Regions from separate parts of the Homo sapiens genome. Here region 2 is linked to region 1. Evidence: promoter capture Hi-C in 16 types of primary human blood cells and fetal thymus (Javierre and others, 2016). All regions are on one chromosome and are shown on one strand. The core of a region is centred on a gene start or on the middle of the fragment in contact, and the rest is flanking DNA. Distances in the headings are between cores, read along the strand shown.

Region 1 (5,758 bases), core at 1,587-4,086:
AGATTGTCATGAACACAATGTCCTCTGGAGAAATCTATTGACAGAAATTGGTGCAGTGTTAACAACGCTAATGTAAAACACAGAATTTACAGAAAAATAGAGAAAATAAACACATTTGTTTTCCTCAGAAAATGAACACTTTCTTTGGTAATTGATAATTTCCAAAACCTCGATTTTAGCTAAGTAAATTTTTGTGGACTCAAGTCTGAATGATAAACCGGCTTTGGTTTCTTGGTTCCAGTAAACCTGTCTGTCTTCATTTAAAGAACTAACCGTGTCACACACACATCCTCAACAGAAAACCCCGTAGAAACCGGCTAGCGTTGTCAGGAGAACATCCATCCTCTCTTAAACGTGTTCTTGAGTGGATGAAGGTAACACATGCTCACAGGATCCTGGACATTCTTTCTACACTTGAATTTCTTTCTTTTTTTTTTTTTTGAGATGGAGTCTCGCTCTGTCGCCAGGCTGGAGTGCAGTGGCACAATCCCGGCTCACTGCAACCTCTGACTCCCAAGTAGCTGGGATTACAGGCGTGTGCCACTACGCCCAGCTAATTTTTGTACTTTTAATAGAGACGGGGTTTCACCATGTTGGCCAGGATGGTCTTGATTTCTTGACCTTGTGATCCGCCCGCCTCGGCCTCCCAAAGTGATGGGATTACAGGCGTGAGCCACCACGCCCGGCTTGAATTTCCTCTTCGGTGTGTGGTCGACAGATTCCTGCACAGTCTCAACCCTGCCTGGGACACATAGGGACTCACACTGCCCCATCCACAGCTACATTCACAGCCCCATTCACAGCCCCATTCACAGCTCATTCACAGCCCCATCCACAGCCCCATCCTTCATCCTCATGGTGCTTCATGAGGTCAATGGTGTAGATCCAGCCTGGACTTTGTTCACCGTCTGCCCGCTGCCAACCTGGACTCCCGTGGACACAGCTGAGACTGGATGCTGTGTGTACCTGCTCCCCAGGAATTCCCAGCTCTGCTTGCAGACGCCTCTGGGCTGCCCTCCTCACTCCGATGGCATCCTTTTCTTCCAGTTCTGCTGGGTTGTATAATGGGTGGCTACTACAGGAGTCGGTAAAATACCCTGGAAAAAATGCATGTGGGAACATCCCTCTTTATTCCTGAAAAGTGAATATATTAAATACAAATGCAGATGCTTCATGTAAAACCATCATCCGTCATCAGCAGAAGACAGCCTGGCGGGGGGAGTGGGTTTGTCATGGGCTCTCAGAGCAGCACTCGCCTCCAGCCTCCACGGCTGTGGGCTTGGTGAGGGTCTTCCACATGACCACCTGGCGGGGCTGGCCCTGACCGCTCCTGCGGCCCTTCCTGCAGATGTGCACACACATGTCCCGTGGCACTATCCCAGTATGTCTTAGGAGAGGGACTGGTTCCTACTCAGTTTTGTACCCACAGAGGACCTGAGATGCCATGGGGTGGCGGGAGGAGGTGGTGGGGCTGTGGGCTGGGTGGCTGCACCAGCTGGGCTGAGGAAGCTGGGCTGCACTTTGAGGGTGGTGATCAGTGAGCATGGTTTCACAGGAAGACTGCTGGAATACCTTTGACCAAGTTTCCTTACTGAGAGGTTCTACTTAATTTACCCAAGTAACAGCAATAGCGCTATGACGGGAGGTCACACTCTCCTCAGTAAATCTCTGTTCCCTCTCGTTCCTCAGACCCTCAGTGCTTCCTTCGGTCACTCTGCAAGGAGTTTGGCTGAAGTTGAATCCACTCTTGCAAGTACAAGAGCTGGTACTCCCACCTGCCCCTATGTATCCTGGAGGCGGCTAACACATGATAGGAAATCTTAGCTCCAGGGGCTTTATTTGCAAACTGTTGACTATGTACTACAGTTGACCCTCTTAACTTTGCAGCTCCTGAATTTTTCTGAAACAAACTTTGCATTCAGCTCCATCAAGGAGCCCGTGAGTACAACTTGACCAGCAAGTATGGTGGTGGGTTTGGGAATGGGCAGGATGTACCCACTGCGGCTCCGAGGAAGAACTAAGGGAGGAGAAAACCTCGGCCACAGCTGGCCGTGCTTAGCCATTCGCTTTAATGGCTCAGGCAAGGTCTGGTTTTGAAAATTTGAGGACAGCCTAGGCCAAAACACTTTAAATGACCACAATTGACGTAAATGCTGTTCCCCTCTAAAAAATTTTTTGGCCGGGCCCGGTGGCTCACGCCTATAATCCCAGCACTTTGGAAGGCCAAGACAGGCATATCACGAGGTCAGGAGATCGAGACCATCCTGGCTAACACGGTGAAACCCCGTCTCTACTAAAAATACAAAACGTTACCCGGGTGTGGTGGCGGGCGCCTGTAGTCCCAGCTACTTGGGAGGCTGAGGCAGGACAATGGCGTGAACCCAGGAGGCGGGGCTTGCAGTGAGCCGAGATGGCGCCACTGCACTCCAGCCTGGGTGACTGAGCCAGACTCCATCTCCAAAAAAAAAAAAAAATTTTAAGTTGTAATTTTAAGAAGTACAAGATAATTAAAACTCTAAGACCTGTAAGATAATTTTTATTATTATTACCTAGTTAATTTTATGCTAAATGCTATTTTAATCCCCTAAATCCTTAGGTTGATAAATTCCTCTGCATTTAAGTAACTTGCCGTTGCAAAGAAACAACAAAACAAAAAAACCCAGAAACTCATATAGTTTCTTACTTTTTTAAAAAAGAAAACCCAGCCTACTGAAGAGCTATCAGCATAATTAGCATCTGCCTAAGCTGCCGATTTTCTGCAGGATGAGCTGCCAGCTCACCACAGTGCGGCACTGAGCACCAGAGAGTTCCTGTCCCAGATTCCTCCGGTCAAGTCACATGAGATGCTCTCTTCAGTCCGGGGCTTGGTTGAACGGACTCACCAGGAAACGTGACTTTCGTGTCCGACCTCTGCTGTATCAGGATTCGATTCTTGGTGTTAAACAAGACAACGCTGAAGGCTCGGTGCAGCAGCCCTGCAAAGGTAAGTGCCATTTGTGTGAGTGCATGCCTGGAGTCTGTACGATTGTCCTTCGTGCTTTTTGTCCTCAGTCTGTTTCTCGTAGAAAAGCCTGTGATTGTGGCACCTGGGCAGGGCAAAGGGGACTGCTGGATGCCCAAACACAACGTTTCAGAATCTCAGCGGATTAGAACACTCGGGAAACTAAAAATAGATCTACCAGATGACCCAGAAATCCCACTACCAGGGCAAATATCCAAAATAAAAGAGATCAGTCTATCAGAGAGATATCGCAGCATTCCTGGGTGCTGAGCACCATTTACGACAGCCAAGATATGAGATCAACCTGTGTCCGTGGAGGTTTGAAGGGTTGAAAACATGAGGGTTAGATACACAGTGGCATACCATTCCACCACAAAAGAAGAATGAAATCGGGCCGGGTGCGGTGGCTCACGCCTGTAATCTCAGCACTTTGGGAGGCTGAAGTGGGCGGATCACGAGGTCAGAAGATCGAGACCACCCTGGCTAACATGGTGAAACCCCGTCTCTACTAAAAATACAAAAAAATTAGCTGGGCGTGGTGGCAGGTGCCTGTAGTCCAAGCTACTCGGGAGGCTGAGGCAGGAGAATGGCATGAACCCAGGAGGCAGAGCTGGCAGTGACCTGAGATTGCACCACTGCACTCCAGCCTGGGCAATGGAGCAAGACTCTGTCTCAAAAAAAAAAAAAAAAAGAAGAATGAAATCCTGTCATTTGTAGCAACATGGATGGAACTGGAGGCCATTGTGTTAAGTGGAACAAACCTGGCACAGAAAAACAAGTATCACATGTTCTCACTGCTATGTGGGCTCTAAAGAAGTTGATCTCATGGAGGCAGAAAACACAATGCTAGACACCAGAGGCTGCGAAGGGCAGTGGGGAGGGATGACGAGAGGGTGGTTAATAAGTATAAACATACCGCGATAGAGAAGGAATAATATCAGCTGTTCAATAGCACAGTAGGGTGACTGTAGTTAACAACAGTGTATTATATGTTTCAATGTGGCTAGAACAGAGGATTTGGAATGTTCCCAACACAAAGATATGATGAATGTTTGAGGTGATGGATATCCCAAAATGCCCTATTTGATCATTATGCATGACATGGTGGTATCAAACTATCACATGTACCCCATTAATATGCATAATTATTATGTGTTTATAAAAAAGACACAAAAATGAAAATTAAAAAATAATAAAATGGCTTAAGATGGTCAAAGAAAACCAGAGCTGGACAGGAGTTAAAGCAGGAAAGTCTGACTTTACTGAGAACCATTTCAATAGGGGAAAGAGACCTCCATGGAGAACCAGCCTAACTGCACACAACACCCAAGGAGCAGGCTGGGGCCTATGGATTAAAAGTTACTAAGAGAAAACATCAGTGGGAAGGGGGTTCTGGCTACACCGACCTAACAAGACCTGCTGAAGACAGGCCTGCGTGATCAGACGTCACCTGGGAGGGACGGGGTTGAGGAATTTAATCAGATGCCAAGGTCAGGGTTCTCGCTAAAACAACCTGGTAGAATTCTTGCTGAAACAGGATCTTACGAGGAAGAGCACGGATGCCTAGGAGAAGGTGCAGGAGCCTGACAAGGGCTTGACCAAGCAAAGACGTCATCCAGGTGCTGCTCCCCGAGCCTTCTAAAGACGGCACAGCAAGCACACAGGTGACCCAGTGGTCGCCTCCTAGCCGGAAAGGCCTAGACTCTCTTCTTAGGTTGCCGTCGGGTGGGAAAAATGGGAAAACCCTGGGAACTGGACAGAGAAAATGGGCGGGGGCTACCTTTCTCAATGTTTTCGTTCAGATGGCAATTCCTCTTGGTGTCGGCACCAATAACCTTATCATTCTCATCCACAACAATCAGCATTTCCTCCAAGCGCTGCAACTGACGCCTGTCAACCCAGTCAAGATTTATGTCAGACATAGCTGCTGGCTGTGACCCGACCTGAAATAGATGCACACAAATGCCTCTTTATGTGAAAGATATTGCCATCTCGTTTTTGCTATGTGTTACCAACCACATTAGGATTTAGCATACACCTTCTCTACAAGTGACAGCAATTGTGTTGAAGCAGCACAGTTCTGAGATATGGAAGGTGAATCATCTGTTTCTAATGTGGTGTCTCTCTGAACGGGAAATCTTGGGTACATACATACTCCTCATGTTTTCCAGGTTTCCTTTAGTGACGAGTTAAAGAATCCCCGCCCCACCACACACACACACACACACACACACACACACACACACACACAAAACACACCGAGGTAAACTGTAGGTAACACTCTTTGTACAAGTTTTTGGGGAAAAGTGCAGCCCTGTGCAAAACCACTGGACCTGGATCAGACGTGGAGAAACACACAGCCTTGTAGGAAAGCTACGTCACCCACAGAAGGGCTATGGTCCTCTTCAGAGCCAAGCAGATTCTTAGGTGAAGATCTTCTCACAAAATGTTTTCAGGGCCAGGAGCGGTGGCTCACGTCTGTAATCCCAGTACTTTGGGAGGCCGAGGTGGGAGGATCACTTGAGGTCAAGAGTTTGAGACCAGCCTGGCCAACATGGTGGAACCCTCTCTCTACTAAAAAATACAAAAATTAGCCAGGCCTGGTGGCACATGCCTGTATTCCCAGCTACTCAGGAGGCTGAGGCAGGAGAATCACTTGAACCTGGGAAGCAGAGGTTGCAGTGAGCCGAGATCGTGCCATTGCTCTCCAGCCTGGGCAGACAGAGTGAGACTCTGTCTCAAAAAAAAAAAAAAAAA
Region 2 (6,892 bases), core at 1,402-3,901, 120 kb before region 1:
TCTAAAAACATTATTCTGAAGTCAGGAACTCCCTACTCACAACAGATTACTCCCTGTTCTATTTGCCATGTTCTGCACATTCTATTGCCTTTTCCTGGAACACAGGTATCCCTGTGTTTTATCTTCTATCTACACACAGTGATACTGAGAACAGGACAGAAATACATATCCCACCAATGATATATTACAACTTACCTTGATCTTCTTCCTTTTGTTAGTAACATTCAAATATATGCAGTTTTACTACAGTGTTGTCTAAGTACTCCATTTCTTTATTTGTAAAGTTTGCTAAGTTACCTTCTAACTCTAATTGTCTATGATTAGGAACAATGAGTTAAGGGATGACGCATGAACAGAGATGGACAGCACAAGATGCTCCTAGACAGACATGTGTTCCAAGAACTCCAACATAATTTTATTTTACAGACCATTTTACAAAAATCAGTAAATGAATATTCAACTAGATAAGTAAACAGAAATTTACCTAAATAAGGAAAAAGGGCTAAGAACTTTAGAGATTGCCTTAATTAAGTACTATATAATCTCCTTGGGAATCAATTAGAAAAAATCAAAATGTGTTACTTTCAATGTCCAAACAAAATTTGTAGAAAACAGTTTACCACCCAGACTTTGATCCCTTTGAAGCTACATAAATTGATCAGAAAAAAAAAAAAATGATCACAGAAGCTAAATCAAATCATCAGAAGCACAATCATGGCCAGGCACAGTGGCTCACGCCTATAATCCCACCACTTTGGGAGGCCGAGGCGGGTGGATCATCTGAGGTCAGGAGTTTGAGACAAGCCTGGCCAACATGATGAAACCCCGTCTCTCCTAAAAAATACAAAACTTAGCCAGGAATGGTGGCATGCGCCTGTAATCTCAGCTACTGGGGAGGCTGAGGCAGGAGAATTGCTTGAACCTGGGAGAAGAAGGTTGCAGTGAGCCAAGATCGCACCATTGCACTCCAGCCTGGCAACAAGAACAAAACTCCATCTCAAAAAATAAAAATAAAAAAATGATAATAATAAAAAGCACAGTCATAGCATTCTAGGATCGGAAAGAAGGATGTCTTTTTTTTTTTTTTTTTTTTTTTTTTTTTTTTTGAGGTAGGGTCTCACTTTTTCACCCATGCTGGAGTGCAGTGGCCCGATCTCAATTCATTGCAGCCTCGACCTTCTGGGTCCAAGTGATCCTCCTGCTTCAGCTCCCCAGGTAGCTGGAACTACAGGAGCATGCCACAAAGCCCAGCTAAAAAAGGATATATTTCCTTTTTTTTTTTTTTTTTGTGAGAAGCAGTCTCACTCTGTTGCCCAGGCTGGAGTGCAGTGGCACAATCTCAGCTCACTGTAACCCCTGCCTCCCGAGTTCAAGCGATTCTCCTGCCTCAGCCTCTCGAGTAGCTGGGACTACAGGTGCACGCCACCACGCTTGGCTAATTTTTGTATGTTTAGAGAGACGATGTTTCACCACACTGGCCAGGCTGGTCTCGAACTCCTGACCTCATGATCTGCCTGCCTCAGCCTCCCAAAGTGCTGGGATTACAGGTGTGAGCCACCAGCGCCTGGCCTCTTTTTTTTTTTTTTTTTGAGACGGAGTCTTGCTCTTTTTGCCCAGGCTGGAGTGCAATGGCACAATCTCGGCTAACTGCAACCTCTGCCTCCTGGGTTCAAGCGATTCTCCTGCTTCAGCCTCATGAGTAGCTGGGATTACAGGCACCTGCCACCACGCCCGGCTAATTTTTTGTATTGTTAGTAGAGACGAGGTTTCACCATGTTGGCCTGGTTTCGAACTCCTGACCTCCTGATCCACCCGCCTCGGCCTCCCAAAGTGCTGGGATTACAGGAGTGAGCCACCGCACCCAGCAGAAGGATATATTTCTTAACAGAAATTTTCATTATGATTCCCACGTGCATATCTAAATAGAGAAGTGCAGAAAATAAAATACAATAGGAATTCTAGTTCCTCATCCATCTGCCTTGTGCTGTTAGTTGGATGATATGGTTTATCTCACGGCTGCCAGCACCACTCTGTAATATTTGAAATGCACATTTTTATCTTACAATAGAATAATGTGAGAGCACCTTAGGGCAGATTATTTTATGTTCCTTCCATGTACCTTATACACATCATATACTCAAGTGAATCTGTAAGCTTGAATAGTGGGAACATTTACAGAGCAACAGACTGCTGCTTCCAACAAAACTGTTATTTTAGTCTTTTGTTTTTTTCAAGATTCAGTATCTCTATGATATTCCATTCTTTTCGTTTCATGTTCTTATAGTAAGTGTGTCACTCAAAGATACTGACGGATAAAAGAAATGCGTCCAATCTCAGTAGAGTAGTTGTTTATACATTTAAACTGGCACTCAGCACTGGAGTATTCCTAAGGAGATGTTGCCAATAAATTTCAAGACTAATTTTGTAAAATGTCCTTTATATGTGTACATCGGTGCTTCTACTGAAAAAAACAGCAGTGAGAAAATGTGAGTTTTATTTATAGTTTGAGTTGGTTCTCCTCCTAAGGAGGACATAATCAGACACAAGATACAAAAACTTATTTGTTAGCAAGATCTGATTGAAAAAGTACCTACATGAGAAGACCACCAAATAATATACTTTCAAAATCTTCCTGATTTTAAATTTAGAACGTGTCTACTAAGTCGACACACAAAAAAAGGACAACGGTCCCCTCCACCGTTAAAGCCTGTGACTGGGTCTACGACATTATCTTCTGGAGAGTACAATCTTTTGAAAAGACCATTTTAGCTAGGATTCTTACTAAAACATAATACAAAACAACCACCGAAACTGGAGTTTAGATCATCTCATTAACCCTCTGGCTAGGAGAGCATTTTACTCATTAAACCTTTGACGAACTCAAAAACCACCACTCTAATACTTGGTTGTAAAGAAGCTGAAATAAAGTATCTGAACCAAATGCACAGAACATTGTTTTGCACAAGCCCTAAGCTGCAGCAGTGCGAATCATGGCCCTCGGAGTACCACTTCTTGCTTTTATCCCGTGCTACACCTTTCCCAGTAAAGAGCTTCTTAGGAAGGGTTTCCACACCTTTTCACACACTTTCACAAAGGGAAAAGCAAATGGAAAAGTTGACAACTACATTAGGAGTATCTTTTTAGGACACAAGCTTAGCTAATTCACACAGCTTCCTTTGTCAAATACTGGACTACCAAGAAGCATCAAAACCAAAATCTGCAGTCTAAGCAGGGCACAGCTGCAGCACGTTCACTTCATTTAACCTCAAGTTGAAGCAGAAACATAAAATCTTTTTTTTTTTTTTTTTTAATTTTGAGATAGAGTCTCACTCTGTTGCCCAGGCTGGAGCGCAATGGTGCCATCTCAGCTCACTGCAACCTCCACATCCCAGGTTCAAGTGATTCTCCTGCCTCAGTCTCCCAAGTACCTAGGATTGCAGGTGTGCACCACCACACTCAGCTAGTTTTTGTATTTTTAGTAGAGACAGGGTTTCACCATATTGGCCAGGCTGGTCTCAACCTGACCTCAAGTGATCCCGCCCACCTCGGCCTCGAAAAGTGCTGGGATTACCGGTGTGAGCCACGGTGCCTGGCATAAAATCTTTTTAATACAGATGTTAAATTACCTGGTTGAAAAGCTAGTTGTCTCTTTTGTCTAGTCTGTTTAGAATATATTCTAACCTCCATTTTTCTGTCCATCAGCATTTTATTCCATTAGAAATTACTTCTCATGTTGAGAATGTCAACCTGGACAAACAAGATTCAACCTAACCTGGCAGGATGTGTGCTGGATGCCCAGGAAGCCTCTCCTGACTTGCAAGCGTCCCCTACTTCCACTCTTCCACATCCTTCAGACCCACCTGCTCACTGCTGCACTCAGGCTCACTTATGCCATCTCTCAGCCATGGACTGATCTCGCAGATGGCAAACAAAGTATACCCAGAGTCCAGAGGAGGAAAAGGCAACTTCCTGTTGATGTTTCACATGCAATCTTACCTTTTGGACAAAGAGCAGAACTGCCTGATTCAATCTTTTATAATTTACTTTTACCTTAAGGAATTGCATATATAAACTTATCTTACTGCACGGCTTTAATTCCATTTTGAATATGTATTTTCTTGAGATTATTGATAGTCTCCATAAAAATCTTTGCTTCCTCTCATTTACATCTGAAAACAAAACAAAACAAAAATGCTGATGGACAAACGTAGTAGCATGGGCATACACCTGAACTGAGGAAAAGCCAGAATTGGCAGCACAGCACACAGGGCCTTCCTCGTCAGGAATGCACCTTGTAGAGTACACCGCTTCACTCTGATGGGTGGAAAAGGTCTCTCTCCACCTCATTTCCAGTGGATCCTGCATTTCTTCAAGGAATACAGATCATGTTCTATTGAGCTTTCCAATTCATCATCACAAAACTACAGTTTTCAATTGAAAATACATAATACTCAAAGAGTAAGATGGGGAAGTGGTGAGTAAACTCATTTTTTAGAATGGCAAAATGTCAGAGCTGGGAAGCAGCTCGGAGCTGCTTTAATCCTGTGCGGCTCAAATGGGAAGGCATATTTGTCCCTAACAATGAGTCAGAGAACCATGAAATGATACATAAATTGATTTTGTTAAAAAAAAACCTTGACACGCAACACTGACAGAATACAAGCTGAGCAGCACTAATCTGAAAATCTGAAATCTGAAATCCTCCAAAATCTAAAACTTTTTGAGCACCAACATGACATCACAAGTGAAAAATTCTGATGTTTCTTCTCACCTACGAAAATTAAACACAATCCAAGCACAATGATGCATACCTGCAGTCCTAGCTACTTAGGAAGCTGAGGCTAAAGGATTACTTGAGCTCAGGAGTTCAAAACCAATATGGGCAGCATAGCGACACTCTGTCCCCTAAAAGATAAATAAAATAGGCCGGGTGCAGTGGCTCACACCTGTAATCCCAGCACTTTGGGAGGCCAAGAAAGGGAGATCACTTGAGCTCAGGAGTTTGAGACCAGCCTGGGCAACACAGTGAAACCCTGTCTCTATAAAAAATACAAAAATTAGTCAAGTGTGGTGACATGTGCCTGTAGTCCCAGGAACTTGGGAGGCTAAATTAAGAGGCTCACTTGAGCCTGGGGGGCGGAGGGTTGGGGGGGCATTAAGCCGAGATCATGCCACTGCACTCCAGCCTGGGCAACAGAGGAAGACTGTCTCAAAATAAAAATAAAAATAAAAATAAAATAAAAATAAATAAATAAAATGAAATAAAATAAAAATACATAAAACACAGTGTACAGTGACCTTTTAATCACAACACAGCATCATAGGTGGACACTGAAAAGTCTGCTGCTGCTGTTATCTGACGGCTGATCCAGGTACTGTGGCGATGTCACTGGGCTGGTTAGTTACCCGAGCACATCATTTCCTCACTGTATTAATGCTATGTCATGTTCTTTACTGCTGAGTACTCCCATGCGAGCAAGGGTAAGAAGATGACTGCCACTTGGTAGCATATAAATCCAGAACCAGGCACGATGGTGGCATTAAGCAACCAGACTGTCCACATGGGTGGCTGGGATGGTGACATCTTTGCTTTCTGATGGTTCAATGTACAGACCTCATTTCACGCTAAATTTATTTAAAACATTGTATAAAAGTACCTTCAGGCTATGTGTATAAGGTGTATACAAAACAATTCTGTGTTTAGACTCGGATCCCATCCCCAAGATACCTCATTATGTATATGCAAATATCCCAAACTCCAAAAATAACTGAAATATAAAACACTTCTGGCCTCAAGCATTTCAAATAAGGGATACTCAATCTATAGTTATAAAAATGTCTTCCTCAAGTTATTAATACAGCCCTGGAGGCACTCCCTAAAGTCTTATTATCTGAACCTGCAAATTACCTTCCTTAATAATTAAATGCCATTTAACAGTGTTATAAGTGGTGATAAAATACACCTTATTTTACACATGCATTAATGTGAAGTCCTCCTTTCTTGAATTTAATATTCCTAATATATACGTATTTCTTAGCATTTCAGTGAAAGGGAAATATTCCATAACAATTATAATCCTATATAGCTCTTGAAAATCACACCTCAGAAGTCAAGACAAGGAATCTAAATAGAGCAGACATAAAACACTTGACCGAAGTCAGGATCCTATCTTCATTAGTCCCTCCATGCCCAGTCTAGATCCCATTTACTCCTGTCTTTGCAATTATGTTTTTTTCCATTATGTTCAATCCTTCCCTGTCACTGTTTCAACAGCTTATTCTGTCGCAAAAAAAAGAAAGTGAACGTGGGGAGGGGAGGAGCTGAGGAGCAAGGGAGGAGCTGAGGAGCAAGGGAGGAGCTGAGGAGCAGGGAAGGAGGGCAGAATCAGCAGGACTGGACGTCCTCCTGGCCTCCTGCTGAAGAGGCAGCTCTCAACTGTTTCTATCTCCAACCTCCCAGAAAACTTTCCTTCTACAAGAACCAGCCTCCTGCTTGCTGGTGGACAGGGAGGACCTCTCACAGCACAGTGGAACAGACCAGCCTTTCCCTTGAAGCCCACTCTACCCTCTTCCACTTCGTCACCTGCTTTCTCAGCCTCTTGGGAATGCTCTTCTGCACTAAGTAGGGCAAAAGCTCTCTTGCCCTGTGCAATCAAAAGAAATAGTAAATCAAATGGGCAATCATAAAGATGAATACATAAATCTTTAGCTATTTTATACATCTTCATTCACACGGGCCTTTTTCTGAGACTTGGTCAATTAGATATTATTTCTTTCCCACATAAACTATATCCATAATGCATCAACAAAGATCTTCATTGTTTTTTAAAGTGCAGCTGAGAGACAGGAAAACCCTCTGAATAGTACAATGCTTCTATGACTCTTCTTCAGT

What was found. Contacts are between HindIII fragments. The CHiCAGO score rates a contact against its expected background, and 5 or more counts as called.
Region 2: a contact is called between a fragment that was not itself captured here and the fragment with the promoter of IDI2-AS1 in region 1, in 1 of 17 cell types (monocytes). The highest score is 5.7, in monocytes.

What each region holds. Positions count from the first base shown.
Region 1 is chr10:1,019,801-1,025,558 of GRCh38, forward strand. IDI2-AS1 (IDI2 antisense RNA 1) reads left to right here and starts at 2,837. Exons shown (of 5, transcript NR_027709.1): 1 at 2,837-2,983. IDI2 (isopentenyl-diphosphate delta isomerase 2) reads right to left here. Exons shown (of 5, transcript NM_033261.3): 2 at 4,782-4,944; 3 at 2,883-2,975; 4 at 967-1,097; 5 at 1-34. The coding sequence starts at 4,923. GTPBP4 (GTP binding protein 4) reads left to right here. Exons shown (of 17, transcript NM_012341.3): 17 at 1-132. The HindIII fragment of the contact is 10,709 bases long and covers 1-5,758 here.
Region 2 is chr10:899,348-906,239 of GRCh38, forward strand. All of the region lies in intron 1 of LARP4B (La ribonucleoprotein 4B), which reads right to left. Among named protein-coding and RNA genes, the nearest start is that of LARP4B, 29 kb to the right of the region's middle. The HindIII fragment of the contact is 998 bases long and covers 2,153-3,150 here.